Regions from separate parts of the Homo sapiens genome. Here regions 1 and 2 are each linked to region 3. The links are contacts of gene promoters, found by promoter capture Hi-C in human tissues and cell types (Jung and others, 2019). All regions are on one chromosome and are shown on one strand. The core of a region is centred on a gene start or on the middle of the fragment in contact, and the rest is flanking DNA. Distances in the headings are between cores, read along the strand shown. Region 1 overlaps ITGA1 (integrin subunit alpha 1). Region 2 has its middle 20 kb from the start of MOCS2-DT. Region 3 holds the start of ARL15 (ARF like GTPase 15).

Region 1 (3,155 bases), core at 185-2,684, 1.4 Mb before region 3:
TTACCTATGACCCTTAATTTTCTTTTTTTAAAAATAAGCATTTTAGGTTAGATAATTGCAAAGATCCCTTCTATCCCCCATACTTAGTTTTGTTATTCTATAGGATGGGAAACAATTGCAGCACTTATAACTTTTTATGATGCCCCAAATTGCAAAGCATAATGAAATATGGCTCACCATCCACCACGATGTGAAATTTTTCTTATGGTCAACAACTTCATTTTTTATTTCCAAATGATATAGTGTGTTTTCAAGAGGCTTTTTATATCAAATCTATATAAGCAGACGTCCTGATGCATTTAAAGTTAATACAGACAACTCAGAAATCTCCCTAACGCCCTAGCCATAATATACCTGTCAGATTCCCTACCATCTCTAATGACCTCAACTTATGGTCATCGATCATTTGATGGAAATTTCTCTGCCACATCCCTGAAAAAAAAGATGATGGCAAAGAAGAGACAATGCTAGCTAATTGCAGTTTGTCTCCCAAAATATTTTCCCAGAAGCTTTTAATTAGTTCAATGTGTATACTATATTTTACTAGGGGTCATGGTGTATTTAACCAATGAAAATATTAAAAATGAAACCGCGGCCCGGCGCGATGGCTCACGCCTGTAATCCCAGCACTTTGGGAGGCCGAGGCAGGCAGATCATGAGGTCAAGAGATAGAGACCATCCTGGCCAACATGGTGAAACCCCGTCTCTACTGAAAATACAAAAATTAGCTGGGCATGGTGGTGCATGCCTGTAGTCCCAGCTACCCAGGAGGCTGAGGCAGGAGAATCACTTGAACCCGGGTGGCGGAGGTTGCAGTGAGCGGAGATCACGCCACTGCACTCCAGCCTGGTGACAGAGTGAGACTGTCTCAAAAAAAAAAAAGAAAAGAAAAAAAAAGAAACAGCAATTTAATAAATGTCATTTTTTGACATTGAATATTAATAGGTCAATGAGAAAATATTTCTTAATTATATTAGTTGTGTGCCCAGCATTGCCAATATACTATTAAATTTAATTCTATCCAAAGGATTAATATTTGCTACCTAAATTAAAATAGTTAATTGTGTTATGTTTTGTGTTTTCTCAACAGATTGGATTCTTCAAAAGACCACTGAAAAAGAAAATGGAGAAATGAAATATTTTATGAAAGAAAATAATAACAATTATTCAATAATCTATCCTCAGGTTTGCCTCAAATATGTGACAAGAAATGTATAATTCATGACATAGTCATGTAACTATGTAATCCATCAGGGATTCATTACTTGGAAAATGACAGGTCATGCATTATCCAAAAACAATACCAAAAAGACATATTTTATAAAATGACAAAAAATATTTTACATAATTACTCATTTTTGTTGAGTAAGCAAAATTACAAAGTGTTTTTAAAAAAACCTGTACAAATATGTTTATGTATTAAATCACCATCCAAAATATTTAAGGAATATATAAAAAGATTTTTATGATCATAGAAACATCTATTTTCAAAACAATATAAATTAAGCTTTTCCCCTTGATTCCTGTTGGATATCCATGTTCAGCATGACAGTCAGCACTCGTAAATGCCAAGAAAAGAATTACCTGAAAAAGATCATTTCTCCCTATTCAAATGAGAATATTTTCCCTTGGTAGAATCCATATACAATATGGATTGAAAATTAAGTCACCAAGAATACATTTAGCATCTTTGTGTTGGGTTCTATACCTAAAAATTTTCCCTCCCTGCCCAAGGTGATTGGAAAGTACTGCAATTGAGCTAAAATTTTATCTAGGATGGAAAATCAGGATAGACTCGTTTAAAAACAAGTATATTAAATGGGTTAAATTAAGCTTTTACAGAACATGCTTAATTTTGATATTGAGCTCTAAATGCAAAACTCTTTTATACTGAAAAAACACTTAAAGTAGTTTTGTGTGGCATCACAGTGATTTGTCATGAAAAGCCATATATGGGGGACATGCTAAAATGGCTTCTGAATGAAATACGACAGCAGAGAAAGATGCCACTGAAATGCTGAAATTATCTTTGCTGAGCAGCTTTTGAATGCTAAGGGTTCCAGTATGTGACCCAAAGAAAGAGTTGTCTCAACTCCTTGGTACAGGGTTCATTCAAACCCCCAAGCTGTGAGAGTGTGTTTATTTTTAATTTTTTAAAAGGTATTTAATTTCCAACCACACTTCTTATTTTTTTGAAAAGACAATTTTCCATTTCAGTATTACATTTTACCAAGAAGTCACTGCTTTTTAGGTGTGTTGCATCAATATTTAAATAAAATCCCAGAAATGTATTTTAAAGAATTTCAGGTTTGAAAACTCAAACCAACAGGAAGATATCACACCTTTGTATGTGCTTCTTTGTTCTTGAAGTAGTCATTATGGTTCATTGGAATCTACTGTAGCATAAGCTCCTAGGTTGCTCCATTTCTTAGGAAAATAGCAATGAATGAATGTATAGTAGCTGCATGTGTGAACTACTGCTGTAAAGTTTGCTGACATTTCTGCAACAACATTTCTCCATCTGATTTACCAGAACCTGTAACAAGACCAGAACATGTATTCATCCAGAAACTCCTGGGCTCTGCTTTGTTCAAAGAGGAGCAAATCCACATAGAAATTAAATGTTATAAATTTATTTTTTTAAACTAATTTCCAAAGAATTTAGCTGAAGACTCAGAGTCAGCCTACCTCTTGACTCTCCACATCCGCATCTAAGATCCTGAAGGCCAAAGGAATGCGCCTGTGGGATGCCAAAGCCATCAGTAGCTGGAAGAAAGAATACCTCTTTCTAGAGGTTTGGTGTCCTCTTGCTGGCCTGTCATTATTTGGAAATACGCGCTTTTGGAATTTCCTTCATTTTCGCTATTTCCAGGTTCAGAAATCATACCTACCACTTGTTCTTTCTTTGCCCAGTAAAACTCAGGGTTTCTCTTATTCAGAGTTACCATGTTGCACACCCCCAGTGCTCAGCCTGCCCAGAAGCCCTTCTCTGATCTCAGCAAGATCTTAGTAGTAAAGCTAACGGATCCATTGAAATTCATACTCAGCATCTGTGACTACTAGACAAAGCCCATTTACTGAACCATAAGTGTGCACTTTTAAACTAAATTGTTAACTGAAAGGGAAAAAATAGAAATGAGGGCATTTTGAAGTTT
Region 2 (3,413 bases), core at 891-3,390, 1.2 Mb before region 3:
ACCGCGCCCGGCTAATTTTTTTGTATTTTTAGTAGAGACGGGGTTTCACCTTGTTAGCCAGGATGGTCTCGATCTCCTGACCTCATGATCCACCCGCCTCGGCCTCCCAAAGTGCTGGGATTACAGGCGTGAGCCACCGCGCCCGGCCTATTCAAACAATTTTAAAAGCACCGTATGGGCTAAAGAGAACACACTGTGAGCTAATATGGCTGGTATGTAGCCAGAAACCTCTGGCATAGGTAATGGGAGAAGGTGGTCAGAACTGAAAAATGGAACTAAGGCTCAAGGCCTGTCAATCATTATTCTTTGTAAAAGGAGTTCTGGATCAGCAACATCTCTCAGACTGGAAATACGAGCTTTTAAGGAGATATAAGGGGTAGAGGTAGCAAGAAAATTCAGAGAATGCTAAAGAATGAGGCACTAGTGCCCCTAGGAGGATGTCATCCACCACAGGACACATACCAGGTGCAGAAAGACTCATTTCAGGCAACAGGTAAGGAGACTGAGTTCCAAATAAAGCCAGAACTGACTTTGGTAACATATGATTGAATGTGCTACAGGTAAAACCAAAAGAATTTTTAAAAGGATGAAGAAAGAAAAAGTTACAAATGCAAGTTTCCTGCAAAAAACATTTGAAGCCCAGAAGAAAAATTTTTGAGAGCCAAAAGGTTGAATGTTTCTCCCCTAGGATGGTTTCATAGGGACTATCTTGGGTATAGTTGGATTAGGAAGAGATTGGTCCATGTACAGAAATGAGATCAGGGAAGGTTATGAATGATTCTGAGAAAATACTAAACCCAAAAGCTGGCTATGAGGTAAGCATCATGGTTAAATATCTAACCCAGACTGGACTGAATGTATATATTTCTTTCTTTTCTTTTCTTTTTTCTTTTTGAGACAGTCTCACTCCGTTGCCCAGGCTAGAGTGCAATGGCGCTATCTTGGCTCACTACAACTTCCGCCTCCTGGGTTCAAGCAATTCTCTTGCCTCAGCCTCTCGAGTAGCTGGGATTACAGGCGTGTGCCACCACACCCGGCTATTTTTTTATATTTTTGGTAGAGACAGGGTTTCACCATGTTGGCCAAGCTGGTCTTGAACCCCTGACCTCAAGTGATCTGCCTGCCTCGGCCTCCCAAAGTGCTGCGATTACAGGTGTGAGCCACCGCACCCAGCCTGAATGTGTACATTTCTGAGACAATAACTCATCTAGCATTTGCACTATTACAATGGATTTAAAACTGTTCTCCCTGTTTATGAACTTAACCCTACAGTCTGTGGCTCAATGTAAAAGTTAAAATGATCCTTTTAAAACTTAAATCTGATCATGTCACTTCACTGCTAAAAGTTCTTCCATAGCTTCCCATCTCACTTGGAATAAATGTCAAAGCCCTTAAAGTGGACACCAAGGCCCAGGTCTGGTCCCAGCTCTGTTTTATTTGATGTCATTTCCTCCATCCTCGAACACATTGCACATTCTGCTCCAGCCACAGTGGTCCAGCCGTTCCCTGAACACATCAAGCACACTCAGGACCTTTTAAATTCCTGTTTCCTCTGCCTAAATGGATCTTTTCCCAGATATCTGCATAATGCACCCCTCACTTCCTTCAGGTCCTGCTCAATGAATAGTATCAGAGCAGTATTCACTGACCACCCAATACAAAGCAGCAGCCCTCCCACCCAGCTTTCTCTTTTCCACGAACTCGGCTTGTTTTTCTCATATCACTTATCATTACTTGGTAGATTGGATTTTGTTTTTAGTTGGTCTGTTTATAATCATTTCTCCCCTCTAGAATGCACACTTTCTTAAGATTTTGTCCACTGATATGTCCCCAGAGTCCAAAACAGTGCCTGGCACATAGTAGGTACTTGATAAACACTTGTTGAATGAAAGAGCGAATGAATAAATAAACAAACAAAGGAAACTTTCAATGACATCGAGAAAATTAACAGTCATAGAGTAGGGAACTACACAAATTTGAAAGACATTTAGTACTTGGGCTCTTTCCAAAATTAAAAAAAATTATAATTACCCTCGTCTGTTCCTCCACTGTGATGAGTAATGTTAGTGACATGAAGTTGAAAGAATGGGTGATTGCTTTCTGGAAAGAAAGAAGGCCGACTCCTTGAAAACTGTTGAAAGATCAGAAAGGAGTAGATAGGGTTCCAGGCTTGCATGAAGAAATTGGCTCTGAACTTCACCAATAAAGGACCCATATGTGGGTTTACAACTAAGAGGACATTATGTTTAAAAACTGTCATTGAAATTGTGCCAGAATCTGTAATCAGGACCTATGACTTTTCTGGTTTTCTTAACTTAAAAAAAAAAAAAGTCCATGATTTAGATATATTTCTTCAGAATGTTGCCTGTCATCAAGACCTAGTAGTGACAGTGTCCTTAGGGATTACTAGTGGGCTTTCTTAATTTGCTGAGCGTTTTTTTCTTCTGTAATACATACGTATAAAATATAATAGGAAGAGAAAGACAAATATTTGAAATATTTTCTCTGAAAGCTTTTTTCCCCCCCTCTCCCTCTTTGATACCATGGATATATTTGTTTGAACATATGTATAGTGAATTTCCCCTCATGGAGTTGTTTATCCTCAGCTACCTTTTGCTGCTAGAAGTAGGTGCGAAGGGGCTAGGCACAGCATGAGTAACTTAATTTATTACATAATATTAGGCATTTAACATAACATTAATCAAACCTCTCCAACTGGAAAAGACCAAAAGACAAAAATGAAAACCATGCTGCTGTAACAAATATCTATATTTGAGATGGGCGAGGCCTTACCATTTTTAAGACTTAGATTTGCTTAATGTTTTTAATTTTAACTTTATTTAGTGTATTAGTTTGTTCTCACACTGCTATGAAGAAATACCCAAGACTGGGTAATTTATGAAGGAAAGAAGTTTAATTGACTCACATGTCTGCATCATTGGGGAGGCCTCAGAAAACTTATAATCATGGAGGAAGGGGAAGCAAACACATCCTTCTTCACATGGCAGTAGCAAGGAGAAGTGCAGAGTGAAGGGTGGGGGGAAGCCCTTTATAAAACCAACAGCTCTTGTGAGAACTCATTCACTATCACAAGAATAGCATGGGGGTAACTGACCCCATCATTCAATTACCTCCCACCAAGTCCCTCCCATGACATGTGGGGATTGTGGGAACTACAATTCAAGATGAGATTTGGGTGGGGACACCACAAAACCATATCATTTAGTTTCAAAGGTTTTTCAAGTACAAATGTTGAAAATATAGCCTTGTTTTTAGAGTAATTTATTTTAATTCAAGTTTAATAAACTCAAGATGGGAATATGACTCAAGAACAATGAAATGTGTTTTTCTAAGCAAGCATATTAGATTATAATACAAAGAAAACATGTGAATAAAACCACAAAGAATACAGT
Region 3 (3,219 bases), core at 590-3,089:
GTTTTCACTAAGCATTTTGATAGGTTTGGCACCTCAAAGACAGCTTTGTGATGCAATTTATAAATTTAAAACACATCCGGTAAATAAAGAAAATAATAAAATGTCAGAACCACCTGATTTTCTTTTTTAAGAACTATTTAAGTATTCAAAATTAGCTTTTAGTAGTACAGGCAATGTCACCCTTTCCTACTTGGTAATTATCCCAACAAACTTTCGCTTTAATTTAGGCAGACTGCAAGACAAAAACCATGTATTGTATTTTATAAGATAAATTACAAATTAAATCAGTTATTTAACTTAGAAAATAATCTTCTGGCAGCTCTCTTAACTTACAGGGCACCTTGTATTGTGAAGAATGTTCATAATCAGATAATCCCCGTAACCAGCTACAGTACTGGGTGAATAATATCCCTTTATCACAAAGATAAAGGAAGTTACTGCCATCAACAAATGAACAACAAAACAGAACTTGAATTCAGAATTTTAGATCCAGCTCCATTCACAAGGCTATGCATTAACTGCAGTCACCATCCTTTCCCACAAGACCATCAAGCTCTGAAGCATTAGGAGAAACATTTTCTTTATGTACACTAAAATAAGCCCAAATACACAGATAACAGCACAAAGCCGGTCCGGCGTTTCTTGGCCATCAAAGCATGCACAGACTTTCTCAGTACAGCCTTAAGTGTAATTCCTAGAAGGCACTGGCAAATCTCTGCCAGGCCAATCTGCAGTCGAAAACCGAGTGCATGTGTCCAACAAGATGACAGGAGGGTCAATGTTTCTAACCGTCTACTTCAACTCTGCATGGCAATAGCGGTTCTGCCCAACATGGTAAACACAATAATCGTATAGGATCGAACACAAGTCTCTGTAAATGAGGATCCCCTTAAACGCAAACAAGCAACTCTGGGGAAATATAATTTCTGGAACAAAACATGGTGCTCGCATAATTCCACAAAGACACATAGAAGTCCATTTTTAAAATGATGTTCGGTCCCAGCACTGTGCTGACACTTTTCCCACCTAAACTTCTCAGCACAAGCCTGGCCTAAACAGCCGGGTTCCAATCCGTGCACAGTGGAACCGCGGCACGCACCCAAGACCGGAATGGTGGGGCTATACCTGTCCCTACTCAGTCCTGTTCGTGCCAGCCTGCGAGGTAGTTTAGACCCGTCTGCTTTATGGTAATGTGCTTTTAAAACCCCGCCACGACCGAGGTCATAGCTTTAGAGATTTAATAACAATCAAATGACCAGGGCTGCTGGGCACTTAGTGAGCCATTCTGGTTATGGCTCTTTAATAGCACCTGGAGTTCTGCTCCAGGGAGAGAGGAAAACTCCTGCTCCCCCGGAAAGAAAGTCCTCTGCGGAGAGCGCAGAGGGAAGCCAGGAAGCCGATCGCGGGCAGGGGACGCGCCGCCGCGGCCGCCCCATCTCTCAAGCAGCCCCAGCGCGACCCTCGCCCTGCAGCCGTGCTGGCCCAGGCCGCACCTTTACCTGTCAGCTCCACCACCCACCCGCCCTGGAGGCTGCCCCTCCGAGTCCAGGGAAAGGCTTACCAGCCGGCTGCGGGAGAAAGAACCCCAGAGGCATCCTATCCCAAAGAAAGAAAGCAAAAAGGCTGCTCCTCAAGGCAGGGGGCCATCGGGCACGCCGAGATCCGAGAGGCGACATGCCACCCCTGCCCTGCACCTACCAGATAATCCATGTACAGAAACGCCTCAGTTATTCGGAGATCAGACATCCGGCAGCCTAAAGCATCCGGAACGGCTCCGAACCCGGAAAAAAAAAGCAGCGTCTCTGGCTGCGAGCGAGCAGCTCCTGAAAAAGCCAGCAACAGCGAAAATAGCCGAAAGCAGCCGACTAGCCGGAGATTACACAAGGGGCGCGGCGATTGGCCAGGCGGGCGGGCAGAAGGAAAGAAGCGTGCTCATTGGCTGCGGCGCCTATAAAAGGCAGGCCCCAGCTGGTGGCAGGAGAGAAACGCGGGAGTGGTGGGGGATGTGGGTTCCTGTGTGCTGAGCGGAGGAGCCGGGGTGGGGGCGGTGCAAGCGGAAGAAAGAGCCAAGAGAGCGGAAAATCGGCTGGTGCTGTCGCCGCCCGAGTTTTGTGTTTCCACAGCTTTCCAGTTGGGTACAACGGAGCCGAACTCCGTGTTCCCGGGCTGGAGAGCCTTGGTGTCCCCGCCAACCCCCAGTAGGAAGCGAGCGCTGTAACATGGGAGGCGTGGTCGCCACTGATCTTGTCTCCCCCCAGAGCCTTCCTAAAGGCTCTGCCGCCACGAGACTGCACCACCGGGAAAGAAGTGTGTGAAAGTGTACTCCGTAAACAGGCAATCCTGTACGCGACTTAGGGGCAGAAAGACCCTCCGCACTTTTATCATTTGAAAGTAAGGTGGACGATTCCAGCCTGGTGTCCCTGAGGGTACACACAGGCCCCCCGCGCAGCCAGAGGTGACTCAGGAACCCCCCTTCCAACCCCTGCGTAGAACGCCGAACAGTCTTCGGAGAATTCGCTTTCCTCCACGTGAAAAGGAAAAGAAAAACATTTGAGGAGTCGCAGTAGTCACTTGTACTCCCCAAACACACGGGAAGAAGTTGATCAGTTTGCATGCTTGGAGTCAAATTACGCTCAGCACAAATCCAACGCCCCTGAATTAAATGAGCAGTAGAAGCTCTCTGCAAAAAACACAACAGTATTTGTGACCCGGTATTATTTCAGGAGGTAAAAACATCTATAAGCAGATGCATTTGGGACGTATGCATTTCCTGGTAATGTCAATATCGCATTAAGCTAGTGGGTTTGGGCAGGGAAAGCCTGAATCGGACAAGAAGCTGGCTTTTTTTTTTTTTAGGCTATAAATAACCAGACCATGCCAGACACATGTTCTTAGGCTATGTTCTTAGGCTCAGGTGATTGGAGTGCCCCCCCCCCCATCCCCACCCTCAGGGCTTAGGGAGAATGGAAGATAAGGTGGATGCTGTCACCTGTATTAATAGTTAGGGCTTGCATACATACAGTAAAGTTTCAAGAGTGAAACTTCATCGACTGAACTCTTTATGAAGTGACTGCCTGACTCTACACGCGATGTTTTAGGAGTTGAATTTTTACTTTCCCCCTGACACCTTTCTTTTTTGTATCCTCAAGAAACAAATTTCCGTACCGTAAGTTTACCTGGGACTACCAAAACAGTTCTGTTAGATGACCGTGGAATTCA

The links. The method cuts DNA at HindIII sites, captures the fragments that hold promoters and counts their contacts. A contact is called where the count stands out against the background at its distance.
Region 1: a fragment that was not itself captured here is called in contact with the fragment with the promoter of ARL15 in region 3 in 1 of the 25 tissues and cell types used here (hippocampus).
Region 2: a fragment that was not itself captured here is called in contact with the fragment with the promoter of ARL15 in region 3 in 1 of the 25 tissues and cell types used here (IMR-90 fibroblasts).

Annotation. Positions count from the first base shown.
Region 1 is chr5:52,951,317-52,954,471 of GRCh38, forward strand. It overlaps ITGA1 (integrin subunit alpha 1), which reads left to right. Exons shown (of 29, transcript NM_181501.2): 29 at 1,091-3,155. The coding sequence ends at 1,135. All of the region lies in intron 2 of ITGA2-AS1 (ITGA2 antisense RNA 1), which reads right to left. Among named protein-coding and RNA genes, the nearest start is that of ITGA2, 36 kb to the right of the region's middle. The HindIII fragment of the contact is 5,123 bases long and covers 1-3,155 here.
Region 2 is chr5:53,128,303-53,131,715 of GRCh38, forward strand. No RefSeq gene overlaps it. Among named protein-coding and RNA genes, the nearest start is that of MOCS2-DT, 20 kb to the left of the region's middle. The HindIII fragment of the contact is 3,023 bases long and covers 630-3,413 here.
Region 3 is chr5:54,308,734-54,311,952 of GRCh38, forward strand. It overlaps ARL15 (ARF like GTPase 15), which reads right to left and starts at 1,840. Exons shown (of 5, transcript NM_019087.3): 1 at 1,699-1,840. The coding sequence starts at 1,746. The HindIII fragment of the contact is 9,246 bases long and covers 1-3,219 here.